2 separate regions of the Homo sapiens genome follow, and region 1 is linked to region 2. The links are contacts of gene promoters, found by promoter capture Hi-C in blood cells and fetal thymus (Javierre and others, 2016). All regions are on one chromosome and are shown on one strand. The core of a region is centred on a gene start or on the middle of the fragment in contact, and the rest is flanking DNA. Distances in the headings are between cores, read along the strand shown. Region 1 has its middle 5.7 kb from the start of ZC3H8. Region 2 holds the start of POLR1B (RNA polymerase I subunit B).

Region 1 (6,094 bases), core at 3,035-5,534, 280 kb before region 2:
ACATTGTAGTTTCTGCCTTATTCTCTTGAATCATCTGCATGAAGGGAAGTCAGTCACCATGTCATGAATCACTCAGGCAGCCTGTGGAGAGCCAGCCATGTGGGTGAGGTACCTTGGAAACAGATCTCCCAGCACTAAGCAAGCCAGAAGACATCTCGACAGCAATCCCGTGAGAAACTGTGGGACAGAACCACCCAGCTAAGCAGCTCGCAGATTCGTGACCCACAGAGGATATAAGAAGATCAATGTTGGGCCAGGTGTGGTGGCTCACGCCTGTAATCCCAGCACTTTGGGAGTCTGAGGCAGGTGGATCACCTCAAGTCAGGAGGTTGAGACCAGCCTGGCCAACATGGTGAAACCCCGTCTCTACTAAAAATACAAAATTAGCTGGGTGTGGTGGCGCATGCCTGTAGTCCCAGTTACTTGGGAGGCTGAGGCACGAGAATCGCTTGAACCCAGGAGGCGGAGTTTGCAGTAAGCCGAGATCGCGCCATTGCACTCCAGCCTGGGCAAGAAGAGCAAAACTTCATCTCAAAAAATAATAATAATAATAAAGAAGATCAATGTTTGTTTTTTTAACCACAAAGTTTTAGGCCAATTTGCTGTCCTCTATAGCAATAGAAAAGTGAAATTCCCTATTATTATAAAGCAGATGGCCTAAACATAAAATTATCATATGACCCAGCAATTCCACTCCTAGGTATATACCCAAAGGAATTGAAAACAGGGACTGAAACATATATTTGTACATTCATGTTAATTGCAGCATTATTCACAATAGCCAAAAGGTAGAAACAAACCGAGTGTCCATCCACTGATTAATGGATAAAATGTGATATACACATAGGATATTATTTATCCATAAAAAGGAATGATGCTCTGATACATGCTGTCAGAACTGAATTTTGTATACTAGCTGAACTTTGAAAACTGTATGCTAAGTTAAATAAGCCAGGCACAAAAGGACAAATATTGTATGATTCCACTTACGTGAAATATCTACAATAGGGAATTGTATAGAGACAGACAGTAGATTAGAGGTTACCAGGGACTGAGAGAGGGTGAAACGGAATTGTTGCTTAAAAGTGACAGAATTTCTGCTTGAGGTGATGGGAAAGTTTGGAAATACATAATGGTGATGGTTGCACAACAATGTGAATGTAACTAATGCCAATGAATTATATGCTTAAAAATGGCTGGTCAGACACAGTTGCTCACTCCTGTAATCCCAGCACTTTGGGAGGCCAAGGCAGGTGGATCATCTGAGGTCAGGAGTTTGAGACCAGCCTGACCAACATGGTGAAACCCCGTCTCTACTAACAATCCAAAAATTAGCCAGGCGTGGTGGCGGGCACCTGTAATCCCAGCTACTCGGGAGGCTGAGGCAGGAGAATCGCTGAAACCCGAGAGGCAGAGGTTGTAGTGAGCCGAGATGGTGCCATTGCGCTCCAGCCTGGGCAACAGAGTGAGACTCCGTCTCAAAAAAAAAAAAAAGTTGAAATGGCAAATTTTATATTTCTTTTACCAAAATAAAATAAAGCAGTTGGCATGTTAAAATGGTGAAATGGCCTGTGATAACTCAGCTCCAGTATGAGCTAGATATAATACCTTATGAGTATGTGCTATAAATCAACAATCACCAATACATGGTGCTGTTTCTCCCATAGCCAGTATACACAGGGTCTGGGAATCAAGGCTTCCAAGTGGGAGTAGGTCCTCTCTGTATTATTCCTAGTGATGCCCTAGAATAATGTTTGCTGCCTATCTCCACAACTTTGGGCTCTGCTGGTTTAGAGCAGACTTTTTCAACCGTAACATTATTGTCATTTCGGCCTGGATAATTGGGGACGGTCTTGCGCATTGTAGGAAGCTTGGCAGCATCCCTGGCCTCTGCCGCTAGGTGTCAGTAGCAGCTGTTCCCCAGTTGTGGCAACCCAAAATGTCTCCAGACATTGCCAAATGTCCTCTGCGGGGAGCAAAATCGTCCTCACTTGAGAACCACCGGTGTAGCGTTAATCCCAAAAGTAGGAATGTTTGCATCAAGGGGCGTGACAATGAGTCCATTAAACTTGAGGTTGAGACTGCCGTTTGGCCACCTTAGGATCCTCATGCCAGTGAATTAACAGGTAAAGAAGGGGCTTACTGTATTGGCAGGGGTGATTAATCCTAACTATCAAGTTATCCTGACTACATAATGATGTTAAGGAAGAGTATGTCTAGGATGCAGCTGATTTCCTGGGCGGGAGACTAAGTAATCCTATGCTCTATGATTAAAGTTAATAGAAAACACCACCACCACAGGCAGCACTGAAAGTGCCCCAAACCCTTCAGGCATGAAGGTTTGGGTTATCCACCTGTTATCAGGAGGGCACTTGAGTGTAAGTTGTGGTGGTCCTTGGTGTTTTCAACAAAGAATTAGACAAAACGCACAAAGTAACAAAGGAATGAAACACAGGGACGAAGCAGCAAAAGCAGGAATGTATTAAAGCGAGAAAGCACTCCACAGGGTGGGAATGGGCCAGAGCAAGCAGCTCAAGGGCCCAGTTGCAAAGTTTTCTGGGTTTTAAGTACTCCTTTTGAGGTGCTTATAGATGAAGGATTTGGTCTCTGGCTAATTAAAGGCTGAGGTGAATTGGTGCCCTATGTAGATGAAGCGATGGTCCCTGCCAGGCCCTCGGCCAATCCAGGGCACTTTCCTTTTCCATCTGAGATGTGGTAGATGGGGGAGAGTTGTAGGGAGAGTAGCCTTTGATCCTTTGCTACTCTGGTGTGAGGAGATGGGAAGGGGGGGTTCCTTTTGGTTCAGCTTTAGGATATTTACAGTAATTGGCCTTAGGATCCCTTCCCCCAGACCCAGGTGTTTTCCTTTTGATCCAGCTTTGGGAAGTCAGCGTGAATTGGCCTCAGATTCCCTGCCCCCAGACCTTGGTGTTTTTCCTTGATTCAGCACGAATTGGCCTTAAGTTCCCTGCTTCCAGACCCTATTCTCCTGCCTCACGCCCAGCAAGGAGTCAAGACCAGCTTGGGAGAGCAAAGAGAACACGGCAAAGAGTAGGAGCAGAAGGTAGTTGTACAAATATCAGCTGCAACTGATACAGGAGCTTAAAAGAAATTGTTTAGGCTGTTAGTGAGGGCAAGCGAGTCCTCAGTAAGGTTTCCCTTTTAATAAAAAAGCAGCTCCAAAATCATTTCTAACAAAGAGCAGCCTGAAAAATCAAGCAGCAGACGTAGAAAAGCAAGCTAGAACCTTGCAGAGGTAAATGCTGGCAGCTGTGCCAATAGAAAAGGGCTACCTAGGAGCCAGGCATATCCAACATGGAGGCTCCATCTTCCCTTTTCTTTGTCACCACATGTACAGTCAGGGAACAGGCAACATGGCACCAGCCAGGTAGCAAACCTATCTGCATAATAAAAGATTAGGGTGGGGTTGCTAGCTTCTTCAAGCACCATGTAAATGGCGCACCTGGTCCAACCAATCCTTTGCACCCTATGTAAATCAGATACCAGCTCCTCAAGCTCATCTATAAAACCACCCACATCTCTCCCTGAACCTGGAAATGTTGGGGACCCCTTCCTCTGCATGAGGCAGCTTTTCTCTTTCTTTCACCTATTAAACTTCTGCTCTTAAACTCCGTCCTTGTGTGTCCGAATCCTCGATTTCCTTGGCATGAGACAATGAACCTAAGGAATTACCCCAGACGAATGATGCTGCTTCCCAACTACATGACCAGTAGCAAAAATGATTGCAATATTTATGAATATATCATTCTTAATTTGATATAAATTTGTGGAAATATGTGTGTGGAATTACACACACATAGACACACACACACATATATTTAAAATTTTCCCTTCTACTATTCCCCTACCATCTAACACAAAATATGTTAATAGTAGTTAACTTTATATCTCTATTTAAGTTATAGGATATAAAAGGAGGCATGTGACTGAGCTAAAAAAAGAATTCAAAGAAGAATGAACATCACCCAAAAGTGAAAAAGGGACTTTTTATCCTTTCTTGGGAAAATGGGTAGCATGTTTTTGGTTGAATGGGGGATTGGTGCATCATGTTAGGCAGAGGCATGACTTTGCTATTGCTTTTATCTGAAAACTAAATATGGGTTAAAGAGATATTTATAGGTACCTAGTTAAAAAGTGTATACTTGGGCCAGGCGCAGTGGCTCATGCCTGTAATCCCAGCACTTTGGGAGGCCGAGGTGGGCGAATCACGAGGTCAGGAGATGGAGACTATCCTGGCCAACATGGTGAAACCCCATCTCTGCTGAAATACAAAAAATTAGCCAGGCGTGGTGGCAGGCTCCTGTAGTCCCAGCTACTCAAGAAGCTGAGGCAGGGGAATCGCTTAAACCCGGGAGGCAGAGGTTGCAGTGAGCCGATATCGCGCTACTGCACTCCAGCCTGGTGACAGAGCAAGACTCTGTCTCAAAAAAAAATAAGTGTATACTCGATGATTTTGTAATATGTCATCTTAGTGTATACTTGGTGATTTTGTAACATGTCATCTTAGGTAGGCTAACCCATGTTTTCCAGGATTCTTATCCTGCATATTTCTAGTTAGGGTGGACCACAAGATAGATTTTGCATAAAATTTGGGAGGTGGAGGTAAAACAGCAGCCATATTGCTTTTTACATTCAGGAGGTCAGTGAAGGGGCAGAAGATGCTATTGCAACTCATGCACATTGTTGTTTACTGGTTTACCTTGTTGATATGGGACAACAACAAGACCTGATATAACTCACCCCAGATCCTCCTTCAGATTTTCTAAATTCTGGGCCAAGCATGTCTTTAGTTCCACGATAAAGGGCTCAAGAGTCTCCTGCACAACACCTACGTCATTAAAGTAGAGCAGATTAATACAGGTTCTGGGTTTATGCTCAGGGATTCTAGATTGTCTTCATTCTCCCCCACTTTACATCCAACTTCCCTTCCTGAATATGTGCCTTGCAGGTCTTAAAAGTTTTTTAGACAAAGTCTTGCTTCATCAGTGGCACAATTATAGCTCACTGCACTCCCATGGGGTCTCACTGTGTTGCCCAGACTGGTTTCAAACTCCTGGCCTCAGCAATCCTCCTACTTCACCCTCCCAAAGTACTGGGATTATAGGCATAAGCCGCTGTGCCTGGCCCCACCTTGCAGCTCTGAAGCTCCAATATCAGACAAGAGCTTTACAGACTGTTTTAAACAGCTCCCACAATTGCATAAGGTCAAATCCCTGTAAATCTAGCTAGCTATCATCTGTCATCTATCTATTTATTTATCTTCTAGTGATTCTGATTATCCAATTAGACTTTGAGTAATAAGATGGCTTTAATAGAGTAGACAGGGTTTAAAAGAAAATTAGTGAACTGGAAGATAAGTCAGAAGAAATTATCCAGAGTACATCATAGAGAGACTGCCACCCAAAAAAGGGAAGTTACAAAAGAGATTATTATAAAAACATAAATAATAGATTTAAATGTCTAACATATAACTAATAATAAGAAGAGAAGAAAAAAAGAAAGAGGAGGAGGACATATTTGAAAAGAAAAGGCTGGCCAGGTGTGGTGGTTCATGTCTATATTCCCAGCACTTTGGGAGGCCAAGGCAGGTGGATCTCTTGAGGTCAGGAGTTCAAGACCAGCCTGGCCAACATGGTGAAACCCTGTCTCTGCTAAAAATACGCAATAGCCAGGCATGGTGGCCCACACCTGTAATCCCAGCTACTCGGGAGGCTGAGGCAGGAGAATCACTTGAACCCAGGAGGCGGAGGTTGCAGTAAGCCAAGATTGTGCCACTGCACTCCAGCCTGGGTGACAGAGTGAGACTCTGTCTCAAAAAAAATAGAAAAGAAAAGAGAAAAAGAAAAAGAAAGAAAAGAAAAGACAGACTTTTCCAGATTGTTGAAACTCAGCAATTTACAGATCAAGCATTAAACAAATACTAGGCAGGATAACTAAAAGAAATCCATACTAAGACACACCATACTGAAACTACAGAAAAGCAGAGAAAATATGTAAAATAGCCACAGAAAAGTTTTAAAAGTTTACCTTCAGAATAATGACAATTAGACTGCCAGCTGTCTTCACAGCTGCA
Region 2 (6,310 bases), core at 3,110-5,609:
GTTGGACTAATAATAATTCTTTTAAAACTTCCCACAGGGAAAAGCCCAGGACCAGATTGTAAGCCAGATGGTAAGGAATTAACACCAATATTTCATAGAGTCTCCTAAAAAATAGAAGAGAAGAAAATACTCCTCAATTGAGAAGAGTGTCCTCAACTTTATGAGGTCACTCTTAATACCCTGATACCAAAACCAGACAAAGATGTCACAAGAAAAGCAAATAGCAGACCAATAATCTCTTGGGAATACAAACGGAAAAAATCTTCAACAAAATACTAGTAAACCAAATCCAGCAACATAGAAAAAGGATTATACATTATGACTAAGTGGGACTTATCCTAAGATTACAAAGTTTGGAATAACTCATGTTCTCTTGTAAGTGGAAGCTAGGCTGAGCACGGTGGCTCACTCCTATAATCTCAGCACTTTTAGGAGGCCAAGGTGGGCAGATCAAATGAGGCCAGGAGTTTGAGTCCAGCCTGGGCAACATGATTAAATCTGGTCTCTATAAAAAATACAAGAATTAGCCAGGCATGGTGGTGCATGCCTGTAATCCCAGCTACTCTGATGGCTGAGGCACAAGAATCGCTTGAACCTGAGAAGAGGAGGTTGCAGTGAGCAGAGATCGCACAACTGCTCTCTGTCCTAGGTGACAGAGCAAGTCCTGTCTCAAAAAAATTAAAAAGTGGGAGCTAAACATTGGGTACACATGGACATAAAGTTGGGAAGAGGCCAGTCGCGGTGGCTCACGCCTGTCATCCCAGCACTTTGGGAGGCCAAGGCGGGCGGATCATGAGGTCCGGAGATCAAGACCATCCTGGCTAATATGGTGAAACCCCGTCTCCACTAAAAATACAAAAAATTAGCCGGGCGTGGTAGCAGGCGCCTGTAATCCCAGCTACTCAGGAGGCTGAAGCAGGGGAATCACTTGAACCTGGAAGGCGGAGGTTGCAGTGAGCCGAGATTGCGCCACTGCACTCCAGCCTGGGTGACAGAGACTCTGTCTAAAAAAAAAAAAAAAAAAAAAAAAGATGGGAACAGCAGACACTGGGGACTACTAGAGCCAGGAGAGAAGGAGGGGAGCAAAGATTGAAAACTACCTATTGGATACTGTGCTCGCTACCTGGGTGACAGGTTCAACCATACCCCAGACCTCAGCATCACCCAATATACCTTTGTAACAAATTCGCACATGTACCCCCCTGATTCTAAAATAAACGTTGAGAAGGGGAAAAGAAAGAATGCAAGGTTTTTTTAACATACAAAATTTACTTAATATAATATACCACTTTAATAGAAAAAAGAGGACAAAAAGCACATGATCATTTCAATATACACTGAAAAAGCATTTGGCAATACACAACACTCTTTCTTGGAAAAAACCTTTCAACAAACTAGAAATAAATTACTTCCTCAACATGATAAAGAGCATCTTTGGAAAAACCCACAGCCTACATCATATTAATGGTGATGTGAAAGCTCCAGTTGGGAGCTTTCTTCCCAATATCAGGCACAAAACAAGTATATTTATTCTTGTCACTTCAACATTGTATTAAATGTTCTAGACAGAGCAATTCGACAAAAGGAAGGAAAGAAGACTGCGCATTCAGATTGGAAAGGGAGAAGTATGATGATCTCTCTTTGCAGACGACAAGATACCATATAGAAAAAGTCCTAAGAAATCCACTTACGCTGTTAGAACTAATAAAGAGTTTAGCAAGATTGCCAGACACAAGATCAATATACAAAACTCAATGGTATTTCTACATATTACAAACAATTTGAAGTTAAGAAAACAATTCCATTTATATCAACACCAAAAAGAATGAAATACTTAGGAATAAATTTAACAAAAGTTCATTTCTACACCAAATACTACAAAACATCTCTGAAAGAAATTAAAGAACACCTAAATAAATGGAAAGACATCCCATGTTTATGGATTGGGAGATAATTATTGTTAGGATGAAAATAGGCCCCAAATTGATCTACCAATTGAACACAATCCTGATCAAGAATCTCAGCCTTCTTTGCAGAAATTGACAAGCTGGGCCGGGTGTGGTGGCTCACACCTGTAATCCCAGCACTTTGGGCGGCCAAGGCAGATGGATTACTTGAGGTCAGGAATTCAAGACCAGCTTGGCCAACATGGTAAAACCCTGTCTCTATTAAAAATACAAAATTAGCCAGGCATGGTGGTGCATGCCTGTAATCTCAGCTATTTGGGAGGCTGAGGCAGGAGGTAGAGGTTGCAGTGAGCCAAGATCATGCCACTGCACTCCATCCTCAGCAACAAGAGCAAAACTCTGTCTCAAAAAAACAAAAAACAAAAAAAAAAAAAAAAGAGAAAGAAATTGACAAGCTAAGCTGACGCTAAAATCCATATTGAAATACAAAGGATCAAATAAATCTGGAGAAAGAAGAACAAAGTTGGAGGATGTGCACTTCCTGATTTCAAAATTTATTACAAAGCTGTATTAATCAAATCTGTGTAGTTTGTAGACAGATATACAGATAAATGTAGATAGACATACAGATCAAGAGAATAGAACTGAGAGTCAAAAATAAACCCTTGCATCTATAGTGAACTGATTTTCGACAAGGAGGCCAAGACAATTTGATGAGGGAAAGAATAGTCTTTTTAACAAATGGTGTTAGGACAACTGGATATCCACATGCAAAGGAATAAAGTGATATGCCTTTCTCACACCATATACAAAAATTAGCTCAGAATGAGTCAAAGACTTAAATGTAAGAGTTGAAACTACAAAACTCTTAGTAGAAAATATAGGTGAAAATCCCCATGATTGAAAAATATCTAGTATTTGATAGCACAACAGGGTGACTGCAGTCAGCAATAATTTGTTGTACCTTCAAAAATAACTGAGGAAGTACAATTGGAATGTTCATGACAGAAATGATGAATGCTTGAGGTGATGGAAACCCCATCTACCCTCCTGTGATGATTACATCGTATGCCTATATGAAAACATCTCATATACCTCATAAATATGCTAATTATGTACCCATAAATTTTTTTTTAAATCCTCATGACCTTGGATTACACAATGATGTCTTAGATATGATATAAAAAGACAGGCAACAAAAGAAAAAAACTACACTTCAAAATTAAAACGTTTTGCTTCAAAGGACACCAGCAAGAAAGTAAAAACCCACAGAATGGGAGAAAAATATTTGCAAATCATGGATCTGACAAGGACTAGTATAGGCTATATAAAGAACTACAACTACTCAGTTGGCCGGGCGCGCGCGGTGGCTCATGCCTGTAATCCCAGCATTTAGGGAGGCAAGGCGAGAGGATCACTAGAGGCCGGAAGTTCAAGACCAGCCTGTGCAACAGACTCCCGGCTCGAATTTTTTATAAAAAGTGATATAGGAATGAAAAGTACCAGCTGAACTAGGAAAGGGGAAGTTGACAGTAAGGAGGGACTATCAGGGGCAGGAGGATACTGGGTAGTGGTGGTTTAATTCATTGTTTTAATTGTGGTGATGGCTGCATGGTTGTATACATAGGTCAAAACTTAACGCGTACACTTTAAATGTGTGGTTTATTGTATGCCAGTTATAACGCAATATAGCTGTTAAACACAAACACAATAAAGTTGAAAAACCAGCAGGCATTCCCTGATTAATCAGTATTCTGGGGAGGTAAGGGGCTCACAGGAACGCAAAAGAAATTCAGGCTGTAAATCCAGTTGGACGCCCCGCTGCCCCATCCCCTCCATCCGGGACCGCCCGACTCCTCTCCCACCTCCTTCCCCAGGCCTCCCCCAGGCCTCCAGTCCGGAAGATGCGACGAGGTTAGCGGGGCCCGACCACTCCTTGGCTTCCCAGGGGTGAGCCTCGCGAGTTAGGAGTTGGGTAGAGAGTCAGCCCGGGGCCCGGCATCCGCTTTTTCGTTGAAGCAACGACTTTGGCCGGATGACTCCCCAGGGTCGGCATCAGCGTGGGACTGGGAACAGGTGAAGGGAAACAGAAGAGAGCCTGAGAAGACCGCTCTCCTCCGATCCTAATTGACTGAGCCAATGAGAGCCAAAGAGGTCACATGCTCAACTGGGCGGGGAGCGGGTTTCCACCTGCGGCATCTTTCGCGAGCGGGGAGATGAGTGGGGCGGAATATGGGAGAAAGGGAGGGCCCGCCACGCTCTGGCTGGACACGGCCTTAATCGGCCCGTTCACTCGACGTTTTTGGTTCTACGTTGACCCCGAGAAACCGAAACCGCAGGGCCTAGGGCGGGTGGAACGAGAGGGAACTACATTTCCCAGCAGGCTGCGGAAACGGGACTGCGGCCACTACTTCCGGCGTGTACCGAGAGACTGGCGTCCGGCGTGTACCGAGAGACTGGCGTCCGGTGTGCAGGTGGCCACATGGATCCTGGCAGCCGGTGGCGGAACCTGCCCAGCGGGCCTAGCCTAAAGCACTTGACTGACCCCTCTTATGGAATCCCGCGGGAACAGCAAAAGGCAGCGTTGCAGGAGCTGACGCGGGCGCACGTGGAGTCCTTCAACTACGCTGTGCACGAGGGTCTCGGCCTCGCGGTGCAGGTGAGCGCGGCGTCCGCCGGCGCCCTTGCCGCGGCGAGGCCAATCCCAGGGAGGTGGCTGGGAGGTCACAGTATGACCCCAGATGCATGTGCTCCTTGATCCTGACAGGCTTGGTGGGTAAGCGGGAGAGCACAACATGTTAAACAGGACGCGGTACTGGCCTTCGTGAGACTTGGAGTCGAGGCGTCTTAAGAGATGTATTCGTGATTCTGGAGTGAAAAGTGATTGTGAACCGTAGTTTGGACAGTTTCGGGGTGCTGTGAGAGTGAGGAAGTGGCTTATCTGGGGATGTGCTTCACAATGCACACGGCTTTATATCACTTGAAGACTTACCTCTCCAAAACGTACCTCGAAAGATCCCGAACGTATTTGTAGGTACAGTGTAATGTTCAAGGTTATCCTTCAGTTTCCTTCTCTTAGAGCTTTAAAGAGAGAAACTACTCGTCATTTGTTATGAATTAAGCAGGTGCCGAGGAAGGTATAAATGAGTCATGAAAGCAAGATTGAATCGAAAAGTGTAATTGCATTATTAGCGTAGAGTAATGGTAGCAGAATTCAAGTGAGTATGGTGGGGGAAAGCTTCGTTTAGTAAGCATCCCCAGTGTCTCCAGGCACTAGGCTCAGAGGATGTGGAGGAGGCAGTCCCGTGTACGAGACAGTTCATGCATTTAAGTGCTCCCTGTCGTGTTTGGGGGTTGAAGGGGTGAAGATAATGAAAGCAGTGCATGCCAATGTTCTTGAGAACTGCTCTGCCAAGGGATTGTGTGGGCTACTGCGGGAGCCTATGGGCGGCGCAACTAATCCAGGAGTTTGAGAAAGGGCAGGATTAGATGAGTTCAAGAAGTGAGAAACGTGCATTTCGTCCAGGGGAAGAGTAGAGCAGAGTCACATGCTTCGGGGACCCTACCTGTGGTTTTGTTGGGTAAGATTTGTGTTGTGGGAGATAGGGATACAGATAATGTGGAGAGCTTTGATTGCCAGTCTGATTCTTGAACTCTATTCGGCAAATAATATGGGAGCCATTAAGATTTATTGTTTAGAAAGACTAGAGGGGTGGGGGTTATTTGTATTGTGCCTGGATTGTTACAGTATCATGTCTGTGAGAAAAAATTCCTAATTAAAAGTTAATCGGGCTGGGTGCAGTGGCTCACACCTGTAATCCAGGACTTTGGGAGGCCAAGGCAGAAGGATGACTTGAGCCCAGGATTTCAAGACCAGCTTGGATAACATAGTGAAACCCCATCTCCACAAAAATTTAAAAATTAGTGGGGCATGGTGGTGCGCACCCAAGTAGCTGGTCCCAGCTACTCGGGAGGCTGAGGTGGGAGGATAAGTTGAACCCAGGAATTTGAGGCTGCAATGAGCTATGATTGTGCCGCTGCACTCCATCCTCGGTAACAGAGTGAGACCTGTCTTTAAAAAAAAAAAATCCAATTGAGAAATTTTAGAAAAGCACTAATTTAAAAATAAGCCAGTCGGCTGGGTGTGGTGGCTCTTGACTGTAATCCCTGCACTTTGGGAGGTCAAGGCGGGTGGATCACTTGAGGTCAGGAGTTCCAGACCAGCCTGGCCAACCTGGTGAAACCCCATCTCTACTAAAAAATACAAAAATTAGCCGGGCATGGTGGCACATGTCTGTAATCCCAGCTACTCAGGAGGCTGAGGCACGAGAATCGCTTGAACCTGGGAGGCGGAGGTTGCAGTGAGCCAAGATTGCACCACTGCATTCCAGCCTGGGTGACAG

Evidence for each region. Contacts are between HindIII fragments. The CHiCAGO score rates a contact against its expected background, and 5 or more counts as called.
Region 1: a fragment that was not itself captured here is called in contact with the fragment with the promoter of POLR1B in region 2 in 6 of 17 cell types (fetal thymus, total B cells, naive B cells and 3 more); the score reaches 9.0 in fetal thymus.

What each region holds. Positions count from the first base shown.
Region 1 is chr2:112,257,718-112,263,811 of GRCh38, forward strand. No RefSeq gene overlaps it. Among named protein-coding and RNA genes, the nearest start is that of ZC3H8, 5.7 kb to the left of the region's middle. The HindIII fragment of the contact is 4,833 bases long and covers 1,869-6,094 here.
Region 2 is chr2:112,538,106-112,544,415 of GRCh38, forward strand. POLR1B (RNA polymerase I subunit B) reads left to right here and starts at 4,360. Exons shown (of 15, transcript NM_019014.6): 1 at 4,360-4,566. The coding sequence starts at 4,390. It overlaps TTL (tubulin tyrosine ligase), which reads left to right. Exons shown (of 7, transcript NM_153712.5): 7 at 1-3,634. LOC105373562 (a long non-coding RNA gene) reads right to left here and starts at 4,107. Exons shown (of 2, transcript NR_136321.1): 1 at 4,098-4,107; 2 at 3,551-3,973. RefSeq lists an enhancer at 4,243-4,392. The HindIII fragment of the contact is 8,470 bases long and covers 1-5,143 here.